Regions from separate parts of the Homo sapiens genome. Here all the other regions are linked to region 1. The links are contacts of gene promoters, found by promoter capture Hi-C in blood cells and fetal thymus (Javierre and others, 2016). All regions are on one chromosome and are shown on one strand. Each heading gives the region's core, a stretch centred on a gene start or on the middle of the fragment in contact. The rest is flanking DNA. Distances are from core to core; before and after follow the strand shown.

What was found. The method cuts DNA at HindIII sites, captures the fragments that hold promoters and counts their contacts. A CHiCAGO score of 5 or more calls a contact.
Region 2: a contact is called between a fragment that was not itself captured here and the fragment with the promoter of MTOR-AS1 in region 1, in 1 of 17 cell types (naive B cells). The highest score is 6.3, in naive B cells.
Region 3: a fragment that was not itself captured here is called in contact with the fragment with the promoter of MTOR-AS1 in region 1 in 2 of 17 cell types (endothelial precursors and M2 macrophages); the score reaches 6.1 in endothelial precursors.

Annotation. Positions count from the first base shown.
Region 1 is chr1:11,142,562-11,147,219 of GRCh38, forward strand. It overlaps MTOR-AS1 (MTOR antisense RNA 1), which reads left to right and starts at 1,337. Exons shown (of 4, transcript NR_046600.1): 1 at 1,337-1,426; 2 at 2,106-2,325; 3 at 2,592-2,718. MTOR (mechanistic target of rapamycin kinase) reads right to left here. Exons shown (of 58, transcript NM_004958.4): 32 at 4,115-4,230; 33 at 2,407-2,484; 34 at 2,087-2,194. The HindIII fragment of the contact is 11,786 bases long and covers 1-1,460 here.
Region 2 is chr1:11,617,980-11,622,530 of GRCh38, forward strand. No RefSeq gene overlaps it. Among named protein-coding and RNA genes, the nearest start is that of LINC01647, 11 kb to the left of the region's middle. The HindIII fragment of the contact is 1,656 bases long and covers 998-2,653 here.
Region 3 is chr1:11,640,735-11,645,743 of GRCh38, forward strand. No RefSeq gene overlaps it. Among named protein-coding and RNA genes, the nearest start is that of FBXO2, 11 kb to the right of the region's middle. The HindIII fragment of the contact is 3,910 bases long and covers 91-4,000 here.

The DNA.
Region 1 (4,658 bases), core at 87-2,586:
GCTGGGATTACAGGTGTGAGCCACCATGCCTGGCCAAGTGAACTCCTTTTTCATCCTTGTTGATAAGAAGTCAGACTCAGAAGGGGAGTTCCTGAGATCTACTGCTTCATGGTAAATTCCATGAACCCATGGAGCTGTCCTCCATGGAGATAAACTTAAAAGTCTAGCGACAATGATCTCAGGCTTTTAGCTATGATAAGATGCAGTCTGAGCCTGACTGGAGAACCCAAGGCTAGAAGAGACCCAGCGCCAGTAAGGCTGACCTCTCTAACTGCCCTATGGGAGGGTCTTAGGAACCAAAAGCATTGGTGCAACTCCAAAGAAAAGTAACAAACATGTATTTTTCCACTACTATAATACTGGTTGGGGATTTTAATTTAAATGATTTGACCACAAAATGGCAGTTTTCTAGCCCCAGCAGTTCATTTGACAGCAAGCCATCCACAAGAGCCAAATTTCCACTATAAATGTAATGCTTTACTTTCAGGCCTTGGACCACATTTTTCCATCCCATGAAGTGTGACAACAATGATTTCGAAAGTTAAAATAACAGAAAAAAGTACACTGAGTGATTGTTTTTTGTGACTTCTCACCAATAGTTAGGTTCTCCCAGATGCTGAAATAATTTGGCCTCCTGTAAGCCAAAAAGCATCTTGCTGCCTCAAGATAGGAAAGTCACGAAGGCTTAAGGTGGTGGCAGTGTCCTGGACCCAGTAAAGTCAGACAGGCATCTCTCTTCCCAGGACTCATTCCATGCCTCCCCTCTCCTCTAAGTCTACATTTGGATCAAGTCCCACTTGTCAGACTGTCAGAAGGTTCATCAGATCTCTGCTGTAGAAACTCTTTATTATAGGCATTTCAAAGAATTGGGGTGTGTACAAATCAAGTGGGAAATGCTTATTTGTGGAATTCTTTCTGGTGCCCAGGAGACAATTTTCCATCAAAACATTCACTGGGCATTTCATAATTACTAATAAAACATGTAAAAGAACTGTATGTGCTCATTTCAGAGCCATAAATGACTGTATTCATAGATGTTCCTTTGCCCATTGCTCTTTCCTGTCCAGGGGAATGTGCCCTGAGCTTCCTAGGCAGGAATGTGTTTGGAGTCAAAAGGTTTTGTCGCAGCCTACTGAGACGCCTGGAAGCACAAACTTCGATTGGTCTGAAGCGAGAATTTGGAATTAGCAATTAGGTGGGGATCTAGTTGAGAGGAAATGGTTTATAATTGCGGGGATGGATTATGATAGGTAGGGAGACAAATGGTTTCTGGAGTGGTAAAGGCTTTCTCTCTTTTTTCTTTTGCTGATGAACTTCCTATCCTACCCACTCAAGGAATGGGATAACTGGCCATCCTTCCCAGAACATTTAGACTCCTGACTCCCAGACCTGGAGTGACAGTTTCTCATGTTAAAATGATCAGAATGTGAGAATGAAAACACTGATGGAGGACTTGGGAAAGCTTCTTCTCTACAAGCGGAAACTGCAGTGGAAAAAAAGTCTCAATAGAGGCGACAGGATGACTCTGACCTAAGTAGCTATAAATAGCAGGAGTTGGCCAATGAGAACCTAAGGCAACCCCATCTGAAAAGCTGGTGCAGGTGGCCTCCAAGTGTAGTTAGAGCAGTGGTTCTTAGCTTTGGCTGGTGGAATCATCTGGGGGAACCTGAAAAGATACTGATCCTGAGTCTCTCCCCAGAAATTTAATTGGCCTGGGGAATAGCCTGGGCATCAGGATTTTAAAAAGCTCTGCAGGTGATTCTACTGTGCTGCTAAGGTTGAGAACCACTGATTTTGAGGTTATGATTCCTAACTGACTGGTCACAGGTGTCACTTACTAAAAAACATTTTTTTTAATTCCTAGAGAAGAGAATAAGAAGAGACTGGAAAATTGGTCATTCTCTCACAGCTTAAGTTTAGGTGAGGAGCCTTTGAGTATTCTGCTTTGTATGCAAGCCAAGCAATACACTGGTGGAGGAGGCAGGAAAAGCAAGTTGAGTAAGAGCCAGGGTGGAGGGGGGCACTCACCCAGGTCCTGGAAGGGGTAGGGGTAGGTGGGTGAACTGGGGCTTTCTACCAAGCTCACCTGCAGTCTCTCCCACCAGATCTGGCGGATGATCTCTCGTCGCTCGGGGACAAGTTTGTACTGGATAACCTCCTCCAGCTCGGACAGCATGTGGCAAGAAACCATGGCCTGATGGAAGCAAATCGCATTCCAAACTAATTACTGCACGAACAATCCAAAAGACAGGATTAATTTAAATCATTCCTTCTGGTGTCAGGGTATCTGCCGATCAGAGAAAACAGGCATGTTTCCAGCAGCCTGTAAGTTCTCAATAGCCCATTCTGAAAAAAGTATGGAAATAAGCCTCAAAAATGACAATGTGCAGAATAGTTGACACTTACCCCATATGCCCGACTGTAACTCTCTCCTGCCATCGCAGTTAATTCAGCATCCAGCAGGTCCCTGGCCTTGTCAATGCACTAGAAGAGAAACAACCCTTGGGACTGAGCTCTGGACTTGGGAGCTTAGGGTTATTTTAGGGCACCCCAACTAGCTACAGAAGTTATCTGTCTCACTTAAATTCCAGGGATGAAAAGAGAAATTCGCTGAAGAAGGGCATTTTCCCAGAACTGAATGGCTTGAGAGGAGGTATTATCCAATTTCTCATCGAAGACAGAAATGTATGGCATCCAAAACTTTAACATCTATCTAAGGTAACACACAAAATCTTAGGTGGCAAGGGCATGGGAATGTGGGCTGTAAAACCGAATCATGGGTTCTTGCATCTCAAGAGGACATAACTGGGGATCTACCTTTTTTTTTTCTTCTGAGACACAGTCTCACTCTGTCACCCAGGCTGGAGTGCAGTGGTGTGATCTTGGCTCACTGCAGTCTCCACCTCCCGGGTTCAAGTGATTCTCTTGCCTCAGCCTCCCAAGTAGCTGGGATGCTGGGGTTACAGGCGCCCGCCACCACGCCCAGCTAATTTTTGTATTTTTAGTAGAGATAGGGTTTCTCCATGTTGGTTCAAGCGATTCTCTTGCCTCAGCCTCCCAAGTAGCTGGGATGCTGGGGTTACAGGCGCCCGCCACCACGCCCAGCTAATTTTTGTATTTTTAGTAGAGATAGGGTTTCACCATGTTGGGCAGGCTGGTCTTGAACTCCTGGTCTCAAGTGATCCGTCTGCCTCGGCCTCCCAAAGTGCTGCGATTACAGGTGTGAGCCACTGTGCCCAGCCTGGGGATCTACCCTCTTTTAACTTTTTCTTGCTGGGCATGTTTATGAAAATAGATTCTGCACACACTTCAATGGCTCCAGGTGGTAGCTCTGGCTTCCAAGCACCCTCTGTCCTTATGAGGGAGTGTCTCTAAAATTGGCAGAGATGCCCAATCCTGTCCACATGAACGGGAACTCTTGTGTCTCTGACAGAGACAACCAAGATCTTGGTTCTCATCACACAAATGACAGCCTGGGGGACGCCACAGCACTGCAGTTTGAGTTTCCTCTGTGCCATCAATTAAAAACCCCTCATGCAGAGCTTTTCCCGTTTTTGAATGTTTAAGGTTAATTATAGTGTCCCAATGCCTTAAGTGCTCAGATCATTTACCCGGGCACCTCATCTAAGTCTCGTGTCTGACAGGGTGGATGGGATTACTTCATTATTTCATTCTGCAAGTCAGCATACTATTTGCAAGTAAGTACTAGCTTCCTCGGAAGGTAATCAATGTGTGACATGCCTGCATGGCCAGAAGACCCTTGTGACTGATTTCTGCTGCACAGTGAGACTGCTGGCTCTCTGAATCCTACCTTTTGGTGAAATACAGCTTCTCTCTACAACAAGGGATACAATGATGACCCAACAAGCTAACTCCAAAAGCAACCGAGACAGTAGCTTCCAGAACACATTTGTCCCCCTCAGAACAATAAGTAGCCCCAGCTGACCTGCTGGCAGTCTTCTGAGTACAATGAATCAAAACCATTCAAATGTACTCACAGAGCCGAGTAAACATCAGACCTGAAGTACAACAGCTTCTTTACCAAAGCACCGTGGGCTTAGAAGCACTACAATCTTTTCCTCACTGAGAGATCTGGGTGCATGTAGGTTTTTACCTGTTGTGCCAAGGAGAAGAGGTCCTGATGCAGTGCCAGCACAGCTCTATAAAATGCCCCATCATGGGTGTCCCGAGGGATCATACAGGTGTATTCTTCCATGCTGTCCCACTGACCTATACACACACACATAGACAGAAAGCATCAAGGGGGTTGGCTGGTTGGGCTAAAGGCAGCATCTCAAATAGGTCTTGCCACTGTTATTTTCCTTTAGCTTGGGATATAAACAAGACAAATAAACTTGAGCCTCATGTACCAAAATCCTGCAGAGCCCCTATACACACTATGCAGGTTGACGTAACAAAAAAAGCCACATCTGTCTTCCAAACACAGGACTCCATGGCTGCCCAGGGAGCATCTTGACAGATGAGGGGAAGTGCATGAGTGTGAAGTCTGCACATCAAGTGGGCTGAATGCAGCACCTCATTATCCTAGAGAACTCTCTCAGGTTTCTCCAGGTGCAACAAAATTGCTTTCTTCCTTACTACTGAGACAGCTCACAGTTCAATGGTATGTTGGGAAATTACATTTTCCTCCAAACAAT
Region 2 (4,551 bases), core at 576-3,075, 480 kb after region 1:
GACAGTGCTATGACCCAAACCCCAGTGTCCCAACTCCTAGACCAGGAAGCTTGCCCTTCTGTTAAGACATTTTGGGAAGATGGCAAGAAAGTCCTTCCAGCTCAGGGCAGGAAGTCGTCCTTGGCACAGAGCAAGACCTTTGTGGAAAATTGGTGGATAGGAATGAAGAACATTGAATTGGGGGCAGATACTGCCTGTTTCTGCCTGTCTCTCCCCCATTCCATGAGGTCCTGGTAGGGCTTAGTCACAATGCTCTACAAAACATAGTCACGGGAACACACACACACTCATGCACATACAGACACACACAGACATACACACACACACACTTCGTGGGTGTGAGATCAGGCCAGGCTGCCCAGAATTCTAATCCCCCTGATCACACTGATTGGCTCAAGAATGAACACCATGGGTTGGGTGTGGTGGCTCACGCCTGTAATCCCAGAACTTTGGGAGGCCGAGACAGATGGATCATCTGAGGTCGGAAGTTTGAGACCAGCCTGGCCAATATGGTGAAACCCCGTCTCTACTAAAAATACAAAAATTAGCTTGGCATGGTAGCACGTGGCTGTAATCCCAGCTGCTCAGGAGGCTGAGGCAGGAGAATCGCTTGAACCCGGGGAGGCGGAGGTTGCAGTGAGCTAAGATCATACCACTGCAATCCACCCTGGGCGACAGAGCAAGACTCTGTTTCAAAAAAAAAAAAAAAAACACCTGACCCAAGAAGATCAATCAGAGATTTGACACCTGAACCCAGCAAGGAAGATCTCTCTTCCTTTTGGGTAATGAGTTATAGGGGTTCGGGGCTACCATTGGCCTTCTTCCCTAACACGTGGAGAAAGGCTTTGTGAGAACACCTGAAGGGACGCAGACTCCAGATACGCAAAACAGATGATGTCCTGACAATAGCATTTGGGCTCCTGGATCTAGCCTTTCCTGAAACTGGGAAACCCTGAGCACCCAGTTATGTGAGCCAATAAACTCACTTTTTGACTTAAGCTTGTTTAAGGTGGGGTTTTTGTCACTTGCAACCAAAACAGTGCTGACTAGGGTCCTGGGACACACCTGTTTGGGGGCAGAAAGTGGGAAGCAGAACATTTCATTGCCCTCAGCCCCTGTGACGGTCTAGGGAGGCCCTTGTCCATAAGGAAGGCATGGGATCTCGGGAGAAGCCACCTGAAGATCACAGGGGCATGTCCTGGACCGAGAGTCAAAACACCTGGGCTCTTTCACTCCCAAGCTGCGTGACCTTCGACCAGTCAACCAACCCCTCCTTTATCAAGCATGCCTTTTATTTTCTGTGTTCTGATACTTTGACATCTGGGGCTTTGTGACCCTGGAGGGTTAAGAGCTGGTAAATTCTTAGAGATAGTAACCAACTTGCCCATGAGCCCATTTGCTTTGAAAATGCAAACCAACCAATCCAGAGTCTATACCAGCAACTACCTCCTTTATTGGCTCTCACACTTTGGACCACTATCCACCTGCCCTGATCACTCCAGGGTCATCTACCAGACAACTAGGGGCAGCCCTTGTGGCCCAGAATGCACTGAAATTATTCAAACTAGCCAACCCTAAGCCGGCTTGCTCTGCCTCATTCGTTCCTTCTCATGGATACCACAATAAATGTTCTTGCCCACGATTTCCCCCTCCCTCTACCTCCTGACTGCCCCTATGTGCCCCCTCATGGCTGGACAAGCCCGCTCCTCTTGGGATCTGTGAGTGTAATAATCTGTCTTTTTTTTTTTTTTTTTTTTTTTGAGGCGGAGTTTTGCTCCTGTCACCCAGGCTGGAGTGCAATGGCGCAATCTCGGCTCACTGCAACCTCCGCCTCCCAGGTTCAAGCGATTCTCCTGCCCCAGCCTCCCAAGTAGCTGGGATTACAGGAGCCCGCCACCATGCCCAGCTAATTTTTGTATTTTTAGTAGGGACGGGGTTTCACCATGTTGGCTAGGCTGCTCTTGAACTCCTGACCTCACGTGATCTGCCCGCCTCAGCCTCCCAAAGTGCTGGGATTACAGGCGTGAGCCACTGTGCCTGGCCACAGACTGTCTTTTCAATGTCAGCTGTCTGCTAATCTGTTGACCTCACCATATCTGGAATCAGACGTGATTGTGTAAAAGCCTTGAAATTACAGAGGGCTCTGCAGATGAGAGAGGGTGCATTCAAACCCAAAGACAGTCCTTCTAGAACACTACCATTAGATTGCCTTTGGAGCAAGTAGAACTGGAATTATCATCCTACTCCTCAGATGGGTAAACTGAGGCACAGCAAGGTTAAATGCCTTGCCCTAAGACTTGCAGCTCGTTTTCCAAAGATCCAGAACTGGAAGTCAAGACAGAAGAAGGTATAATCCAGGCCAGCTGGGGTTAACCAAGGAGTGTGTCTTGGAGGAGGTAGACAGGCGCCCGCCACACACATGCACACCCTGTATGCACACACACCCATGCACACTGTCTCTTTCTGCCAGCCCTGGCTGAATTAAGAATGCATGTGCTGTAGAGGACCGGCTAGACAATTTTCCTGTCACTCCCGCTCCTAGTTTCTCCCACCTCGTCCTTGGACACAACTGGGAATCTCTTTAAGGCTCACAATTGGGCCCTTTCAACTGGCATTGGTTCCACGCCTCACCACGTGACTCCGCCTCTCCCCAAGCTTTTCAGTGGCCACTTTCTCAGCCCAACGAAGCCTGACAAATCCTTCCTGCAAACGTGCATGTCCCGGGCTCAGAATAACCTACCAAAAGAAAATAAAACCCCCATGAAGTGAGTCCAGGTGACTCAAAGCGTTCTGTTGGCAGCAGCATTTCCGGCGTCTGCTTTCTCTCTGGATCACAAACATTTCTCATCTGCTGGAGCCATTCAAGACAAGGCCACAGGCAGCCAAGGAAGCCCATGGCCCTGGAGACCCCAAACAACTGCACTGAAATGATTAGATGCTCCCCATCTTCCTGCCAGGAGTGTGTTGGGGGCCGGGGAAGGAAGACATCTGGTCTTTTGTACAAATAGAGAATAACAACAATCGTAGTAATTGTCAGTACAAAGTTATTGCCACTCACTATATGCCAGCCATTGTTCTGTTAATAGGCACTTTGCATTTCTTAGCTCATTTAGTCCTAACACCAAGTCACTAAGACAATTATTAATACTGTGCCCATTTTACAGTTGGGAACACTTGCAAAGACTGAATCCATCTGACAACCCGTGATCAACACCCTTACATGGCAATGATCAGTGGAGCAGAGAAATGGCTGCCCCTTTAGGTGGGACGCGCTGTTCCAATTTGCCACAGCCCCCACCAGTCCCTGTTATATTACACCCTGTCTGTCTCACCCATTTAAGTCACTTGCTCTGCACCTATGGGTGTCTGAGTTGTCAACCTCTACACTATGCTGCCTCCTCCCTCATACTTCCTTCACTCTCATCTCCTTCTTCAGGAATCAGGATTTGGGGCCTAAATCTGCAGAAAGCTCGACCCTTCCCTTTCCTACAGACTGACTCCTCCAGGAAGCCTTCCCTGCTTAATCACCAACGCTGCAAATGTCTAAGCTGAAAGGATTATTTGAGGTCATTTGGTTCTAACCCGTCAGTTACAGATGAGGATACTGAGGCCCAGAGAGCTAGGAATGCTGCTGTCTGCCTGGTCCTACGCCTAACGGTGATCAAGCCCTGTCCGCCAACAAGGTCAGCATGCCCCTTCCTACCTGTCGGGGAGGTAGGGCTGGGGTTGTTCCCGTGCCCATTTTATGGATGAAGGAACTGAGGCAAGATGCTGGGTCTCTCTTTGCAATGTCTGAGGCTGCTCTCACTTCCGAGGGCTCCCTGACCACGGGCCAAGGCTGTTTGGCCCTCCCAGTATTCCTGATGCTTCCATCAGTCCCTGAGCTCTAGAACCAGGTCTGAGCCCCCTCACCTTTGCCTGGGCACAGGGCCTCAAGGAGCCCTAGCTTTGTGCTGCACCTAAGCCTCCTTGTCTGATATTCTGGCCCTTCGTTCCACCTCCTGCATTTCACATCTGGCCCAGCTACACTGTCCTTCCAGGGGTAGGTGGAGCCTGTATTCTGCTTATTTCCCAACAGAAGAAAGAGCATCCCAGAGAGGCTAAATGTGACCTAAGGTCACACAGGGACTCCTGGCAAAGCTGGCAGCAGCACCTGACCCCAACCCCTGTCTTACCATGTTTTTCTCTCCACTCTGTGACCCATTCTCTCTGCTCAGGCCTCCCTCTGGGGACCCCGACCATCTGGAAGACATTCCTTTTTCTGAGTGGGCAGTAGAGTCTTAGACCCACCCCAGACAGTCATTTTTGTGGAACCTTTGATACACACACCCTGGCAGGACCCTTAGGGTCCCCTCCCTCCTACTTCCAGGACCTGCCTATCTCTGGATAACCCAAGACTGTCTGTACAGCTGTGCAGGTTGCACACTGCTCGCCCAGCACAGCCACTTACTACAGTCCTAATTGTCACTCACTAGGCATCCCCACACATCCTGCACAGTACAGCTGCCAAATGCAGGAAGGGTTGCAGCAGCCTGCCACTCCCGGGCACCA
Region 3 (5,009 bases), core at 796-3,295, 500 kb after region 1:
AGCATTTGATGAGCGTTTCATTCATCCGGCCAGCACACACTGAATGCCTTCCATGTGCACGAAGCAATGTGCAGATGAGGAAAGGGCTCAAGCTTTGGGGGCCATGGCGACAGAAGCCCCGTCCCAGCCAACTCTGCAGCCTACAGCTTGGTGACCTCGACCAAGGGCCCCACCTCTCTGAGCCTCGGTTTCCTCTTCAATAAATTTTGTGATGACAAAATAAAGCCTCCCGAGGAGGCTGCTGTAGGCAGTCGATGAGATAATGCAGCAGTAGACCAACAAATGTTGGTTCCCTCACCTTCTGGCAACGGCCCACAGCAGTCAGGCCACTCCATTCAGCTTCACTGTCTTGTTCCAAGAATCTAGTGGGTGCAGGAACTGGAGGCACATTAGTGCCTGGGAGTATCAAACCAGGTTGGCAGGTGAGGATCGTAGGTTCCATTTGTGTGGTTGAGGACAAGGGGCAAAGCCAGGTGAAGCCCAAGTGTTTCTGTCTCTAATTATTTTTATTTTTATTTTAGAGAAAATCTCACTGCCACCCAGGCTGGAGTGCAGTGGTGCGATCTCTGCTCACTGCAACCTCCATCTCCCAGGTTCAAGCGATTCTCATGCCTCAGCCTCCCAAGTAGCTGGGACTACAGGCGTGTGCCACCAGGCTCAGCTAATTGTTTTGTATTTTTGGTAGAGACGGGGTTTCACCATGTTGCCCAGGCTGGTCTGGAACTCCTGACCTCAAGCAATCCACCCGCCTCAGCCTCCCAAAGTGCTGGGATTACAGGCGTGAGCCACCGCGCCTGGCCATGTTTCTGTCTCTAAACCCAAGCTGTTAACACTGGACAAATGGCCTCCCTGATTCCTAGGAGAGGAAGGGAGGAAAAAAAGCAGAGTGGGGAGGAAGCCAGAGACCCCTGAATGCAGCTTCATTCATCAAAGGTGACCGCAGAAAGGCAGGGGAAGGTCCCAGGGGGCCTCGGATGGACATGGTCAGGGGAAGGTCCCAGGGGGCCTCGGATGGACATGGTCAGGTGGCTGGGAACTTCCACAGCGTTCCCCTCCACGCCTTAGAAACATCACCTCTGTGAGTGATTCCAAGCTCTTTGCACCCTCCTCCTTGGTGCCAGCCCCCTCCTTCATTCTGGCAGTTCTCCCTAACATCTACCTGCAATATTTCCTGCTGCATGACCAGCAGACCCCAGTGGCAACCCTAGCGAATGGCCCTCAGCCCTGTTCCATCCTGTCTGCAGAGCTCCTAGCAAGCAGCTCCTGGCTCCAGGCAGTAATCCTACTGACAATTAATTGGCTTTTGTTGGAGGAGAATGAATACCATCTCATCTTAATCTTCTTCATTATTCTCCTTGTTCAGCAGAGTCAACACAAGATTAGGTTTAATTTACGGTGGTGGGAAATAGCAAAGTCATTATGCACCAGGAACTCAGGATTGGATCTGTCTGGGTGTTCTGTGTTCACTGCAGGCCTGGCACCATCAAGCAAGGCCCAGGGCTCTGCCGAGGTGGAGATGGACTTGGGGGGGTTCTAGACTCCCAGACCTACTTGGAGCTAGATCCCAGGATACCACCAGCCCTCCCTAGTTGGGAGGGGCCCAGCTCTGGAGGGGAGTCCAGCCATCCAAAGCCCTTGCTATGTGGCCTGGGGTGAGACCCAGGGGCCTCCCAGGCCTTGGAGACCTAGCCTCCTAAATGTTTCTCATACAGCCTCTGGGGTCAGAGCAGCACCAAATCCCAGCCCCTGAAGAGCCAGGCTCAGCCCCAAACAATGGGAAGAGACCAGGACTTGGATTCAAATTCGACTTTTCCTCCGCAGAGAAATGGGCAGGACAGACACAGCTTGGGGACAGCCTTGACAATGCTGACACCTAGTGGTACTTGGAGGAACTGGCCCTTCCCTCCCTCTATGTGCACAATTGAATATACCATGTCCACAACTGAATACACCGCGTACACAAAAATCCAGATTTTTAAGGTAAAGAAACCAGAGGCCAGGTGCAGTGGCTCACGCCTGTAATCCCAACACTCTGGGAGGCCGAAGTGGGCGGACCACAAGGTCAAGAGTTCGAGACCAGCCTGACCAACACGGTGAAACCCCGTCTCCACTAAAAATACAAAAATTAGCTGGGCGTGGTGGCGCACGCCTGTAGTCCCAGCTACTTGGGAGGCTAAGGCAGGAGAATCATTTGAACCCGGGAGGTAGAGATGCAGTGAGCAGAGGTCGCGCCACTGCACTCCAGCCTGGCAACAGAGCGAGACTCCGTCTCAAAAAAAGAAAAAGAAATCAGAAAGGGGAAGAGGGACTTTTCCATTACCAAATTGTTAAACATATGTTTCCACTGAGAAATCTAAGAGGAAATTCATTTTACCTTCCCTGACCACTTAGCCAAAATAGCCCCCAAACACCTAGCATCCCTCCTACTGCCTGGGGTAATGGTACGCACAGACACTCTGGAGCCCAGTGTCCTCGTCATCTCCAACTCTTTCTGCTCTTCCTCACCTGGGAGCCCCCAGCTTCTGTCCTTGCTCTGTCCCCCAGCATGTGGCCCCTTCTGATTCTGTACCCCAGCAAAGTCATTAAAACTTAAGCTGGTGAGGCAGGAGAATCACTTGAACCTGGGAGGCGGAGGTTTCAGTGAACTGAGATTGCGCCATTGCACTCCAGCCTGGACGACAGAGCGAGACTCCATCTCAAAAAAAAAAAAAAAAAAAAACAGCAACACAACCCACAACTCCCCTCTTTCCCTCCTGCGGACTGAAAATGTTTGCTTGGCTCTGTGAAAATAATGTTAATTAAAAGTCTATATACACATATAAAATGTCAATTTAAAGAAAAAAAGACTTAAGCTGGAAAGCCAGCTTCAACTCCTTATTCATTGCATGACCCTGGCAAGCTACCCTGCATCTCTGAGTCTTAGCTCTTTTATCTAAGGGGGCCACTGCACAGATTAAATGAGCCTGTGCACTGAGCTCATGAACTGGCGCTCTAGGTCCTCAGCAAATGCCTGTCATCGCCATCATTGCTGCCATCAGCATCATCACCATCATCATCATCCTGATCATCCTGCTACTCTTGGGAAATTTGGTTTCATCAAACAAGATTGTCAGCAGCTGATGTCTAAACCCCCATCCCTAGCTCCTGCTGAACAGAGCAAAGGTTTTTCCTTAATGGAAACGATATCATATCTGCTTCCTAGAGCATTTATATCTTATAGGGCAGAGCACATAGTAGGTCCTCAGGAAACTCTCTGGGTCACCTTCCTACATCTCCAAGCTCACGTCAGATCACCTCCTCACTTGCTCACTGCTCCAGCCATGCTGGCTGCCTTTCTGACCTGTGAATAAGTTCATTCCCATGTCGGAGCCTTTGGCTGCCTCTGCAGTGCTCTTTCCCCAGAGCCGTATGGCTGGTTTCTCGTCATCATGTGATTCAAGTGTCACTTCCAGCCAGGCGCCGTGGCTCATGCCTGCAATCCCAACACTTTGGGAGGCCAAGGCAGGTGGATCACTTGAGGCCAGGAGTTCAAGACCAGCCTGGCCAACATGGTGAGACCCTGTCTCTATTAAAAAAAAAAAAAAATTAGCTGGGCATGGTGGTGCACGCCTGTAATCCCAGCTACTCGGGAGGCCGAGACACAAGAATCGCTTGAATGCGGAAAGTGGAGTTTGCAGTAAGCTGAGATAGCACCATTGCACTCCAGCCTGGGCAACAGAGTGAGACTCCATCTCAAAAAAAAAAAAAAAAAGTCACTTCTTCAGACAGGTCCTCCCTGATCACCCCAACCAAAGTAGCACTCCTGCCCTCACTCTCTACACTACAGAGGCCAAGTGCCTAAGTGGCTGAGTAGAATTCCAGTTCCCGCCTGGCGTGATGGCTCATGCCTGTAATCCTAGCGCTGTGGGAGGCCAAGTCAGGTGGATCACTTGAGGTCAGGAGTTCAAAACCAGTCTGACCAACATGGTAAAACCCCATCTCTATTAAAAATACAAAAAAAAGCTTAGCCAGGTGTGGTGGCGGGCGCCTGTAATCCCAGCTACTCGGGAGGCTGAGGCAGGAGAATTGCTTGAACCCGGGAGGCAGAGGTTGCAGTGAGCTGAGATCACGCCTCTGCACTCCAGCCTGGGAGACAAAGCAAGACTCCGTACCAAAAAAAAAAAAAAAAAAAAAAAAAAGAATTCCAGTTCCATCACTTCTTAGCAGTATGGCCTAAGGCAAGTTGCTTAATCTCTCTGTGCTTCAATTTTATTTTTCTTTTCTTTCTTTTTTTTTTTTTTTTTTTTTTTTTGAGACTGAGTTTGGCTCTTCTTACCCAGGCTAATTTTTGTGTATTTTTAGTAGAGACAGGGTTTCACCATGTTGGTCAGGCTGGTCTCGAACTCTTGACCTCTGGTGATCCACCCACCTTGGCCTCCCAAAGTGCTGGGATTACAGGTGTGAACCACTGCACCTGGCCCAATTTTCTCATCTGTAAAAATGGAAGTAATCACAGTTTCCACTTCGTGAGGTTATTATGACAAATTAATATAGATAAAGCTTTTAGAGTAGTGCCTGGCTTATTGATGAAGGGCTATCTCATGTGGGTAATTATCTTGTTCACTCATTTAGTTGCTTGTGTTATGTTTCTCCATCTAGACTGTATATTCCAAGAGACCAGAGACTTTGTTTTGTCCCTACCTTACATATAGTAGGTGCTCAATAAATATCAAATGATTAGGAAGAACTGGCCAGGCACGGTGGCTCACGTCTATAATCCCAGCACTTTGGGAGGCCGAGGCAGGAGGATTGCTTGAGGTCAGGAGTTTGTGACCTGCCTGACCAACATGGCAAGACCCTATCTCTATAAAAAATAAAAATTAGCCTGGTGTGGTGGCACGTGCCTGCAATCCCAGCTACTCAGGAGGCTGAGGTGGAAGGATCGCTTGAGCCCAGAAAATTGAGGCTGCAGTGAGCCATGATCACACCACTGCACTCCAGCCTGGGTGACAGAGTGAGACCGTGTCTCT